4 separate regions of the Homo sapiens genome follow, and all the other regions are linked to region 1. The links are contacts of gene promoters, found by promoter capture Hi-C in human tissues and cell types (Jung and others, 2019). All regions are on one chromosome and are shown on one strand. The core of a region is centred on a gene start or on the middle of the fragment in contact, and the rest is flanking DNA. Distances in the headings are between cores, read along the strand shown. Region 1 holds the start of TLCD2 (TLC domain containing 2). Region 2 has its middle 13 kb from the start of ABR-AS1. Region 3 overlaps METTL16 (methyltransferase 16, RNA N6-adenosine). Region 4 overlaps SMG6 (SMG6 nonsense mediated mRNA decay factor).

Evidence for each region. Contacts are between HindIII fragments. The study calls those that stand out against the background at their distance.
Region 2: a contact is called between a fragment that was not itself captured here and the fragment with the promoter of TLCD2 in region 1, in 1 of the 25 tissues and cell types used here (dorsolateral prefrontal cortex).
Region 3: a contact is called between a fragment that was not itself captured here and the fragment with the promoter of TLCD2 in region 1, in 1 of the 25 tissues and cell types used here (H1 embryonic stem cells).
Region 4: a contact is called between a fragment that was not itself captured here and the fragment with the promoter of TLCD2 in region 1, in 1 of the 25 tissues and cell types used here (dorsolateral prefrontal cortex).

The regions. Positions count from the first base shown.
Region 1 is chr17:1,708,777-1,711,626 of GRCh38, forward strand. It overlaps TLCD2 (TLC domain containing 2), which reads right to left and starts at 1,601. Exons shown (of 4, transcript NM_001164407.2): 1 at 1,291-1,601; 2 at 1,028-1,110; 3 at 723-805. The coding sequence starts at 1,466. MIR22HG (MIR22 host gene) reads right to left here. Exons shown (of 3, transcript NR_028505.2): 3 at 2,728-2,850. The HindIII fragment of the contact is 13,317 bases long and covers 1-2,850 here.
Region 2 is chr17:1,193,508-1,196,394 of GRCh38, forward strand. It overlaps a transcript of ABR not described here. Among named protein-coding and RNA genes, the nearest start is that of ABR-AS1, 13 kb to the left of the region's middle. The HindIII fragment of the contact is 6,525 bases long and covers 1-2,887 here.
Region 3 is chr17:2,482,475-2,485,415 of GRCh38, forward strand. All of the region lies in intron 2 of METTL16 (methyltransferase 16, RNA N6-adenosine), which reads right to left. Among named protein-coding and RNA genes, the nearest start is that of METTL16, 28 kb to the right of the region's middle. The HindIII fragment of the contact is 4,445 bases long and covers 1-2,941 here.
Region 4 is chr17:2,221,523-2,224,742 of GRCh38, forward strand. All of the region lies in intron 10 of SMG6 (SMG6 nonsense mediated mRNA decay factor), which reads right to left. Among named protein-coding and RNA genes, the nearest start is that of SMG6, 81 kb to the right of the region's middle. The HindIII fragment of the contact is 7,215 bases long and covers 1-3,220 here.

The DNA.
Region 1 (2,850 bases), core at 351-2,850:
CTGGCCTAGGGCTTTCATGCCCCATACCCACACCCTATACCAGGACACCCCCTTCTCAGAAAAGCTCCATATTCCACATTTCTGTGATCAGCTGGACACCTGTGGGGGCACCCAAACTCCTTAGGCTCACATGGTGGGTGCCCTGGCATGGTGGGTGCCCTTGTATGGTGAGTGCCCTGGCATGGTAGGTGCCCTGGCCTGGTGGGTATCTGGACTCCCCAGCTGTGGCCAGCAGCCACCTCCTCCCCCTAACTCAGCCTAAGACTGGGAGCCAAGCACCAGCTGGGGGCAGAGACTGTGGGAAATTATAGGACAGCAAAATGAAGAGAGGGCCGGGGGCGGTGGCTCATGCTTGTAATCCCAGCACTTTGGAAGGCTGAAGTGGGCGGATCACCTGAGGTCAGAAGTTCGAGACCAGCCTGGCCAACATGGAGAAACCCCGTCTTTACTAAAAATACAAAAAATTACTTGGGCGTGGTGGCGGGTGCCTGTAATCCCAGCTACGTGGGAGGCTGAGGCAGGAGAATTGCTTGAACCCAGGAGGCGAAGGTTGCAGTGAACAGAGGCCGAACCACTGGACCCCAGCCTGGGTGACAGAGTGAGACTCCGTCTCAAAAAAAAAAAAAAAAAAAAAAAAAAAGAATGAGGAGAGACTGGGAACCTCGGGCTGGACAGGGCTCCCCTCCTCCCTTCCTGTCTGGCTTCTGCCCTCAGAGTCTCACCACCAAATGATGACAGAGAAGATCCCAGGTCTTGCCCAAGGTCTGGTTCCACAGCAGGTCAGCTCCGTCTGCCAGGAAGTAACCTGTGGGCATGGGGGTAGGGGTTAGGCTGCTCCAGAGCCCGGGCAGCTTAGAGAGGATTTCCAGCCCCCCCGCCCCGCCCCTCTCCCAGTTCTTAGTTTTCCCTTGGTAAAGCCTTCAGGAACGTTTAACCCCCATGGGGGCGGGGAATGGACCTGGAAGGACAGCAGAACCTGCCCCCCGCCCCATCCCCACCACCGGCCCAGCCTTCCCTGCAGACTCACCCACAGACACAGCCACCAGCACCAGAGCCCAGCGCGGGTGGCCATGGATGGGGTCGGCGGCCATCTGAGGGTACAGTGACAGGCTGGGGGCATGGGGTGGGGACATGGGGGGGGGCATGGTCAGCCTCTCGAGGCCCCGGCCGCAGTCTCCCTGTGCGCACCCCCACCCCAGTCTCAGCTCTGGAGACGCCCGGCGGGTCTCCCGGCCTCAGCCTCCCACCCCTCGCCCTCGCCCCGTGCGCCTCGAGCCCCCAAGCCCGCACCCGAGCAGCGCCCCGGTCCCCGAGAGCAGGCTGTGCGCCAGGGAGACGCAGAGGTTCCACCACTGCCAGCGGTCCCGAGCGGCCGATTCCGGCGTGGGCAGCCGCCGCAACCCCCAGTGCAGCCCCCGGAACGCGAGGAAGGAGGCGCCGGCCACCAGGAGCCCCGTGGGCGCCATGGCCTGGCGGTTGGGGGGTTGCGGGGAGTCCGGGTCGGTCCCCTCGGCGCCCGCGCTCTCGGCCGGGACTGGGAACCCGTTTCCCGGCAGGGCTGGGGCCCCGGCTCCCCTCCCCGCCGCGCCTTTGGGATCAGCAGGAACTTTTCCCCGTTCGTCCACGCCCAGTCCCTCGCCTGGGCGGTGATTGGAGCAGCCGCGGGGCCGCCGCCCCCGGAGCCTTGGCCACCGATTGCGTCTTGCTCCAGCCGGGGGAGCGGTTCGGGGGCTCCGGGCAGTAGACCATGCCCTGGAGCTCGGGGGGCCTCCGGGATGTTCGCCAATAGGGGTCCTCCCCAGCTCCAAGCGTCCTGAAGCGCTGGAGTTGCAGACCTGGGTCTCCAGTCTAACCTCAACTGACACTCCCGGGCCCCACCCACGAACCTTGACCTCTTCCCGGCTCCCGCGACTTTCACCTGCTGAGCGTCATCACCACCCACCGCCACACCCTGCAAGGCAGAGGCTAGCGCAGCCCACTCGTACCTGCCCGAGCCTGGCCGCCGCCCCCACTTCCCTCCCCGCGTCCGTGGTGGGGACGGGGTGCCCCACTTTCTTGGAGCCACCCCTTCGGCCTCCTGAGGTTTCCACGCCTTTACCATATCCCGGCAAACCTGTAATTCCAGCAGTTCTGCTCCCCCTCCCCCACAACCCCCAGGAGACCCCATGTTGGAGAAGCGACCCACTGGGCCCCGCCCCGACCCCCAGCATTGTTTTCGGCCCTACGGAGGAGCCTCATTAGGAAGAGGACGCAAAAGGGAATCGCTGGCCCCCAGTCTTGAAAAGCACTTCCTTCCCCAAGGGCTTGGTACCCGTTGGGTGGGTAGAATATCTTCAATCCGAGGGCAAGGAAAGGTAACACAGGGTCCCTTCAAGGCTGGGACAGAGTCAGAAGAGAAAAACAGACCTGTCCTGCTCTTAGTAGCAGGGCGGTTAGGATTCCAGAACCCTCCAGCCTTAAGAGGAAGAGCCTCCCCCAGCCCCTCACCACCTGAAGAGCCCCAGGTTGCACTGCTTTCCTTCCACCTTACTCCACTCCACCTCTTCAGCTGGCAGACAGTCAGCAAGTCAGAGCTGTTTCCTGCAGGCTGAGAGGGAGGATTCCAGCTACTTCAAAGAATTAAGTTCATAAACCAAGAGGTGCCCCAACCAAACCTTCTCACCAAAAAGCTGAGGTCTTCCCTTCATTCTTCTACCCCCACCTCTCCAAAGGTTTAAATAATAACACTGATCTCTTAAATTATATTATATGAAATACAAAATGTGGAAAATTTGGAAATTACAGAAAAACCAAAGATGAAAATTACAGTGACTTTGTTCCACCATACAAAGATAACCACTCAACATTTTT
Region 2 (2,887 bases), core at 383-2,882, 520 kb before region 1:
CACTCGGGTCTGGCTCGGTCCAGAGCAATTGTACCTGGCCACCAGTCCTGAAGCTTCAGGAAAGCATCCTGACCAGATGCCGCCCGACATTCACTCAGGAAGAGCTCGGTTTCCAGCACGCCAGGGAGTACTGGCAACTGACGCTAATTCAAGCACATCAGTGCAGCCCTTTTTGTTTGTGTGTTTTTATGTTTGAGATAGAGTCTCCCTCTGTCCCCCAGGCTGGAGTGTGGAGTGCAGTGGCACAATCTCGGCTCACTGCATCCTCCGCCTCCCAGGTTGAAGCGATTCACCTGCCTCAGCCTCCTGAATAACTGGGACTACAGGCACCCGCCACCACGCCCAGCTAATTTTTTTTTTGTATTTTTAATAGAGACGGGGTTTCACCGTGTTAGCCAGGATGGTTTTGATCTCCTGACCTCGTGATCTGCCCACCTTGGCCTCTCAAAGTGCTGGGATAACAGGCGTGAGCCCCGCGCCTGGCCACTGCAGCTCTTAAAGCTTACTCTCCAGGGGAAGTGGCAGAGGAAGGAAGACACAAAGATGAATTTCCATCCTCTTTCTCCTCTACTGAAATCTGACAAGCTCCTGGGTCTTTTGATTTCTCCTTGAACATGAGGTTTGTACCTGGAGGATCTCTGGTGGCAAGGGTGTTTCCTTTGTTTTTTTTTATTTATTTATATTTTGATTGATTGATTGAGACAGAGTCTCTCTCTGTCGCCCAGGCTGGAGTGCAATGGCACGATCTTGGCTCACTGCAACCTCCGCCTCCCGGGTTCAAGTAATTCTCTTGCCTCAGCCTCCCAAGTAGCTAAGATTACAGGTACACGCCACCACGCCCAGCTATTTTTTTGTTTTGTTTTGTATTTTTAGTAGAGAGGGGTTTCACCATGTTGGCCATGCTGGTCTCAACTCCTGACCTCAGGTGATCTGCCTGCCTCGTCTTCCCAAAGTGCTGGGATTACAGGTGTGAGACACTTCGCCCAGCCTTCTTTATTTTTTAGAGACAAGTCTCACTCTATCGCCCAGACTGGAGTGTAGTGGTGCAATCATAGCTCACTACAGTCTCGACCTCCCAGGCTCAAGCCATCCCCCTGCCTCAACTTCTTGCATAGCTAGGACTACAGGCATGCACCACCACACCCAGCTAATTTTTTTTTTTTTAAGATGGAGTCTCGCTCTGTTGCCCAGGCTGGAGTGCAGTGGTGCGGTCTCAGCTCACTGCAACCTCCACCTCCCGGGTTCAAGCAATCCTCCTGCCTCAGCCCCCCTAGTAGCTGGGATTACAGGCATGTGCCACCATGCCCTAAAAATTTTGTATTTTTAGTAGAGACAGGGTTTCGCCATGTTGGCCAGACTGGTCTCGAACTCCTGACTCAGGTGATTCACCCACCTCGGCCTCCTAAAGTGCTGGAATTACAGGTGTGAGCCACCGCGCCCGACCCTAATTTTTTTTTTAATTTTGTACAGACAGAACCTCACTATGTTGCCCAGGCTGCTCTTGAAGTCCTGGCCTCAGGCCAGGCGCGGTGGCTCACGCCTGTAATCCCAGCACTTTGGGAGGCCGAGGCGGGCGGATCACGAGGTCAGGAGATCGAGACCATCCTGGCTAACACGGTGAAACCCCGTCTCTACTAAAAATACAAAAAATTAGCCGGGCGCAGTGGCGGGCGCCTGTAGTCCCAGCTACTCGGGAGGCTGAGGCAGGAGAATGGCGTGAACCCGGAAGGCGGAGCTTGCAGTGAGCGGAGATCGCGCCACAGCACTCCAGCCTGGGCGACAGAATGAGACTGTCTCAAAAAAAAAAAAAAGTCCTGGCCTCAAAGGATCCTCCCACCTTGGCCTCTCCAAGTGCTGGGATTACAGGCGTGAGCCATCAGGCCCGGCCCTTAAGGGTGTTTTCTACTGCTACAGTGATTAACTAGTCTCTGGTGTATCTCTCTCCCAAAGGCAGCCCCCAGCCCTGCCTGACCCAGGCTCAGCAAGTAGCGTAAGGAGCATTTTAAAGAAAATTATTGGCTGGGCAGTGGCTCACGCCTGTCATCCCAGCACTGTGGGAGGCCGAGGCGGGTGGATCACGAGGTCAGGAGATCGAGACCATCCTGGCTAACACGGTGAAACCCCGTCTCTACTAAAAATACAACAAATTAGCCGGGCGTGGTGGTGGGCGCCTGTAGTCCCAGCTACACAGGAGGCTGAGGCAGGAGAATGGTGTGAACCCGGGAGGCAAAGGTTGCAGTGAGCCGAGATCGTGTCACTGCACTCCAGCCTGCGCAACAGAGCGAGACTCTGTCTCAAAAAAAAAAAATTATTGGCCGGCGCGGTGGCTCACGCCTGTAATCCCAGAACTTTGGGAAGGCAAGTTGGGATTGTGGGGAGAGATCACTTGAGGTCAGGGATCACTTGAGGTCAGGAGTGCGAGACGAGCCTGGGCAACATGGCAAAACCCCATCTCTACTAAAAATACAAAAATTAGCCAGGCATGGTAGCAGGTGCCTGTAATCCCAGGTACTCAGGTGGCTGAGGCACGAGGATCGCTTGAACCAAGAAGGAGAAGGTTGCAGTGAGCCGAGATCACGACACTGCACTCCAGCCTGAGCAACAGAGCGAGATTCTGTCTCAAAAAAAAAAAAAAAAATAGGCAAGGTGCGGTGGCTCACGCCTATAATCCCGGCACTTTGGGAGGCCGAGGCAGGCGGATCACCTGAGGTCAGGAGTTCAAGACCAGCCTGGCCAACATGGCGAAACCCTCTTTCTACTACAAATACAAAAATTAGCTGGGCATGGTGGCACGTGCCTGTAATCCCAGCTACTCGGGAGGCTGAGGCAGGAGAATCACTTGAACCCAGGAGGTGGAGGTCACAGTGAGCTGACATCACACCACTGC
Region 3 (2,941 bases), core at 303-2,802, 770 kb after region 1:
CACGACAACATACACATAATCAAAATTCGGGACAGGAAACAGGAAATGGAGAGGGAGTGCCTCAGCTTTTATACACAGGGTCAAAAGACTTCATTTAAGGCTGATAAACTAAGTAGCAGAGATAGAAGCACACATTTAGGAAGATAAACTGGCTGGGCCCAATGGCTCACACCTGTAATCTCAGCACTTTGGGAGGCCGAGGTGGGCGGACTGCTTGAGCTCAGGAGCTTGAGACCAGCCTGGGCAACATGGCGAAAGCCCGTCTCTACAAATAGTACAAAAATTAGCTGGATGTGGAGTATGGTGGTTGTGTGAGCCTGCGGTCCCCGCTACGCAGGAGGCAGGAGGATCACTTGAGCCCAGGAGATCAAGGCTGCAGTGAGCCAAGATCCCATCACTGCACTCCAGCCTGGGTGACAGAGTGGGACCCTGTCTCAAAAATAATAATAATAATAATATTAACACTAGAAGAATGAAGATAAATAATATAATCAAATAAAATCAGGGGCAGTAAAGGAAAGGTAGGTGAAAATCAGATCATATAGTGTTAAAAAAAAAAAGCAGCAAGAACAAAGCATGATATAAAATGAATGTGAAATGAATGTAAATAGTAAACTCATAATACTCTCAGATTAGATTACAAAAGACAAAACCAACTAATTACAATAAACTGTTTTAAACAAAAACTACGGCTAAAACAAAATGATCCAAAGGTTGAAAATAAAAGCTTAACCAAAAGTATCCCAGACAACTACAAATAAAAATGAAAATAGGAGTTATTTCACAACAGACAACCTTAATTTTTGGATCAAAAGGATTAAATGAGCAACTATGTAGAATGGGTTAAAAATATAAAATGCTGATGGAGGTCAAGAGAATAATAACTTTAAAAAGTGACTGACTCCATTTCTGTGGGTGTTGGTTTTAAAGAACAGCTTCTATAGGACAGTGGAAGCAGAAGTTTATTGCATAAATATATGCTAGCAATTAAAAGTCTCATTAAAATACATTAAGTCTATTTAAAGGGGTATTAAGTTTATTCTTAGACATCAGAATTGGATATGTATTAATTTTGTCATTTATGGGGGCTAATAAAAGAGGGTTAATCCAGGGGCAACAACCACGAACACATTTCTGCTTTACTCAATAGCACGCAATGGCCTCAATCAATTTTCACATAAAAAAAAGATTTGCACTATCTTTGTATTTCTTACTCGACTAAAAGCAGTATAAACTCAGGATCAACAAGATAAATGATGAGCAATAAAAAGGTATAAAATCTATAAGCACTTCAGTTTTACTTCTAACGAGAATATTTTATTCCTGTGAAATCAGTCAAGTGTGTGAGAAAAATGGGCCAATTCCATTTCCTTCAATGACATAGGAATGAAAGTCAAGTTTTACATATGACGAAGAAGTTCACATCTAAGTACCATGCTAAGGCATTCAAACACATTCGTGTCTTTAACTCGAGAATGGTAGCCTGACCTATTAACTAAATTTCACTGCTAAACACACAAAAGGAAAAATATCCCATGTCTATGTTCAAAGGCTTAATATCTCAAACGTAAAATTTCATGGTAAAAGGAATTTGAGGAGAAAAAAGTTTTCAGAAAAATCTCTATTAAAGAAACTTAGTAACTTACTTATAAAATAAGCTTGATAAAGAGTATTATCTAAGGGCAGTAAATAGTAACAAAAGTATTGCTATTTTGCACTGGCATTTCAAAGTAATTGTGAAAATCAGGGGTTTCAAAATATTTATAAGGAATAGCTATTGGTACTACTCAAAATGCCAGTCCCTGACAAGATAAAGAGCTTGTGCCAGAATGTAAACAACACATTAAAAAGTCAATTAAACCAAAGAAATGTGAGGTAACCTAAACATACGGCACAAGGTCCTTATCTCTGTGGACAGTAACAAATAGTCTGTGGTTAAGCAGCCAGTTCAATAACCACTTTTAGTAGCACTATGCCAGATGCCACAAATGACCATTTCAAAGGTTATGACCACTACTCTGTTCTTTTTTTTTTTTTGAGACGAAGTTTCGTTCTTGTCGCCCAGCCTGGAGTTCAATGGCGCAATATCAGCTCACTGCAACCTCCACCTCCCGGCTTCAGGCGACTCTTCTGCCTCAACCTCCTGAGTAGATAGGACTACAGACATGTACCACCATGCCCGGCTAATTTTGTATTTTTAGTAGAGACGGGGTTTCGCCATGTTGGCCAGGCTGGTCTTGAACTCCTGACCTCAGGCATACTGCCTGCCTCGGCCTCCCAAAGTGCTGGGATTACAGGTGTGAGCCACCGCGCCTGGTGACCACCACTCTAAGTAGTTAATGTTGTGTGGATTTGCCAGCCCGGTTTTGCCAGCTCTCTAATACTTTCAAACAAAACCAGTGATCCATGTTTTCATATGAAATGGATCTGATTCTTAAGATTAATATGGGCAATAAATAATAACTGCAAGCCTTATACAATTCACAGGCTAATGGGCCGCACCCTCTATTACAGGAGTCCCCAACCCCTGGGCCATGGACTGATATTGGTCCCTGGCCTGTTAGGACTTGTGCCGCACAGCAGGAGGTGAGAGGCAAGCAAAGCTTCATCTGAATTTACAGCCACTTTCCATTGCTCACATTACTGCCTCAGCTCCGCCTCCTGTCAGATCAGCGCAGCATTAGATTCTCACAGGAGCGTGAACCCTCCTGGGAACGCCGCATGCGAGGGATCTAGGTTGAGCACTCCTTGAGGATCTAAAGCCTGATGATCTGTCACTGTCTCCCATCACCCCCATATGGGACCGTCTAGCTGAGGGGAAACAAGCTGCGGGAAAACAAGCTGATTCTACACTATGGTGAGTTGTATAATTATTTCATTACATGAAATAATACAACGTAATAAATGTACAATAAATGTAATGCGCTTGAATCATCCCGAA
Region 4 (3,220 bases), core at 19-2,518, 510 kb after region 1:
ATGGCAGTATGAGAAAGGATTAATACAACAGTAGATACCAAAGCACATTTAATGGATTTTACTTTAATGCCAGATGTAAAATATGCATTTGGAAATTATGCTTTCAAGAAAGTCACCTTAACAAAAAACAAGGAAAGACAGTAAGATTATGAGCAGTAACCTAGTTAACAGATGCCCCTGCCCTTGCCATTCAATCTTCATTGTCCAGGCTGACCTGCTGACAGATTATTCTTTTTTTTGAGACGGAGTCTTGCAATGTTGCCCAGGCTGGAGTGCAATGGGGTGATCTCGGCTCACTGCAAGCTCCACCTCCCGGGTTAACGCCAGTCTCCTGCCTCAGCCTCCCAAGTAGCTGGGATTACTACCATGCCTGGCTAATTTTTGTATTTTTTAGTAAAGACAGGGTTTCGCCATGTTGGCCAGGCTGGTCTTGAATTCCTGAGCTCAAGTGATCCACCTGCACTGGCCTCCCAAAGAGCTGGGATTACAGACGTCGGCCACGGCACCTGGCCTCAAATTATTCTTTGACTTGAACTTGATATAACGCATGTTTACTGAGAAGTTACAACAGGTCAGGGACTGTTTTAGATGTTCACAATGTATCAGTGGATAAAACAGACCAGAGACCCCTATAAGCAGGGAGCTTACATTCTTGCAGAATAGTAGAGGAAAATAAATAATAAACATATACACATTAATTATCTAGTATTTAGAAAATAAATCAATAGAATTGGAAGATAAAGAGTGCAGGTTTGGAGTAGAATGCAGCAGTGTTAAATAGGATGGTTGGGGCAGGTCTCACAGAAGTAACATTAAGCAAAGACTTATAGGAGGCGAGGTATTCACCAGACAGATGGCTGGATGCAGAACATTCCAAACAGAGAAAACAGCTAATGCGAAGGGCCAAAGGTGGGAGAGTCCCCAGCTTAGCAGAGAACTTGCAAGAAGGGTAGTGTGGCTGAAGCAGAGTAACCAAGCCATGGGGAGAACAGTCGTGAATGAGCTCAGAGAGAGGCAATGCGGGGGCGGGGGGGGGGGGGGGGGGCAGGAGAAGAGGTCCATATATGAAGGCCTTGTAAATAATGTGGCTTTTACACTGAGTGAAATGGGAAGTCAGTGAAGGATTTTGAACACAGCAGACTCTGTATGTAATGTGTCTGTGTGTGCATGTTTGGGAAGGAACGAGAGAGGTAAGGGGTACAAAAAGAGACCACTTAGGAGTTTCAAGACTTTCTTTCCAAGTTTAAAAAGAAGTTTTATCCACAAGGGGTATTCAGGCCATGTTTGCAAACACAGGTTTTCTCTTCCAATGAGGAATATTGAAGAATGTGTCAATGGCCTACAACTGTATCCCTAGCAGGCATCTGAAAAATAATACTTACGAAACATTTTCCTCTGCTCATTGCCCTGACATGAGTTCTGGGCATCACCCTCTCTCAGGGGAGAGGTGAAAAGAGGTTATGTGGAACAGACAGTGATAACAGGATGACGTCACAGGTGTGCCTCAAAGAAGTCCCTGGTGAGCTGGGCTCATAACTACTCTGCAGTGATTTATTCGACCCTGCCAGCTCCAGCTGGAGAAGAGATGCAGAAAGCTGACACAGCCTAAAGCCCTGGGCAGGCATTATAAGATCTTTCTCCCTGCAGTCCCCTGCCAGCTCCTCCCCTCTTTCAACCACTGATCCTTGCCTCAGAAGCCAAAGTGTGAACAGCACGTGTCCGGATTTCAGAAACCTGCCCAGCAGTTGGAAATTCCCTGCAGCGTGTCAACTGCTACATCTGCTGTTGGCACTTGGGGCAAAGGGATCACACGCGCATATTTTCTGAACATAAGCTTCAAGATATGAGTCTTATATTTGAAGAGGGGACTAAACAAGCCAGAACACTCCAATTACAGTAAATGCATTCCTAAATAGACGACAATCTGCCTTCTGAAAAGGAAACTGAGACATACAAGCAAACCGAATAGCACTAAGAACAGCAGTAGTCAAGAACAAAAGCACAGAGAACCCTGACTAATGGAAAGGATTTCATGGGCCAGCAAGGTTCACCAGATATATAATGTGATGTAGCTGAAACAACAGAGTACTCTTTTCCAAATCTCTAACTCACATCTTTTTGTCAATAAATGGCTCCTATCACTTCAGCTGCAGCCTTTCCTCTCCACTCCTTTGATCTTTCTTCCCCACCCAATTAGCCCTCTAAGTGATATTCTATACACTGGACACCTCTTGGAAAAATGAAAAAATGTGAGCCCAATGACACCATTTGCCATAAGACTGAGCTGTAAATGGGCAGGAGCTGGAAAAGAAACTAATCTTTGGAAGAGCAAACTACATGCCCTTGCCACCCTGGATGTAGGTGCCCAGTCACACTGCTCATGGGCATCACAGGCAGAGCAAAAAAAAAGAAAAGAAAAGAAAGAAAGTCTGAGTAAGTCTGATGGAACAAGGAAATCCCAGCTTCCTCTGGTAGTACGGCAGACTAGACACCTAGATCCATTCTCCCAATCAAACAGCTCATTATTCTGAAAAAAAGAGTATGTTAAACATCTTTTTGAAAAGCATTCGTGAGCTAGTAAAATAAAAGAAAATCCTTTGGTCAGAGATTGAATAAAGATGGGAAACCAGATAGGTAAGTGTGGCATTACAAACAGCCTTTACCCTAAGAACATTTGCTACCTGATGAACTCGAGCTTTGCTTTCCAAGGCTGCATGGACACAGCCAAGATCCTTATCATAAAGCTAGGGTCCCACAAGGCTACACCCCAAATACACCATTTCAGATTATGGAGTCTCTAAAATGCCATGTTGAATATATTTTAGAGAAATAAAAGACAAGCTCACAAGTATATTTGGGAAATAAGAAACCATAAAGAAAGTCAAAGCAGATTTGATTTAAAAAATATATGGAAATAAAAAATTTATTAAAATTAAAAACATTGTCAATGGGGCATATTTAATAGAAGGTTAGATATAGCTATGGAAAGGTTCAATGAACTGAAAGATAGTTAAGGAAATTATCTGGAATGTAGCACAAAAAGAAGGGAGTCAGAAAAATCAAAGAAAGGTTTAAGAGACATCAAAAACTAAGCCTGATGTATGTCTTATCAGGGTCACAGAAGGAGAAGAGAAAGCATGGGGAGATGCAGTCTTTGAAAAAAGACACTAAGAGTTTTCCAAAACTGATAGGAAAACCAACCAACCAACCAACCAACCAA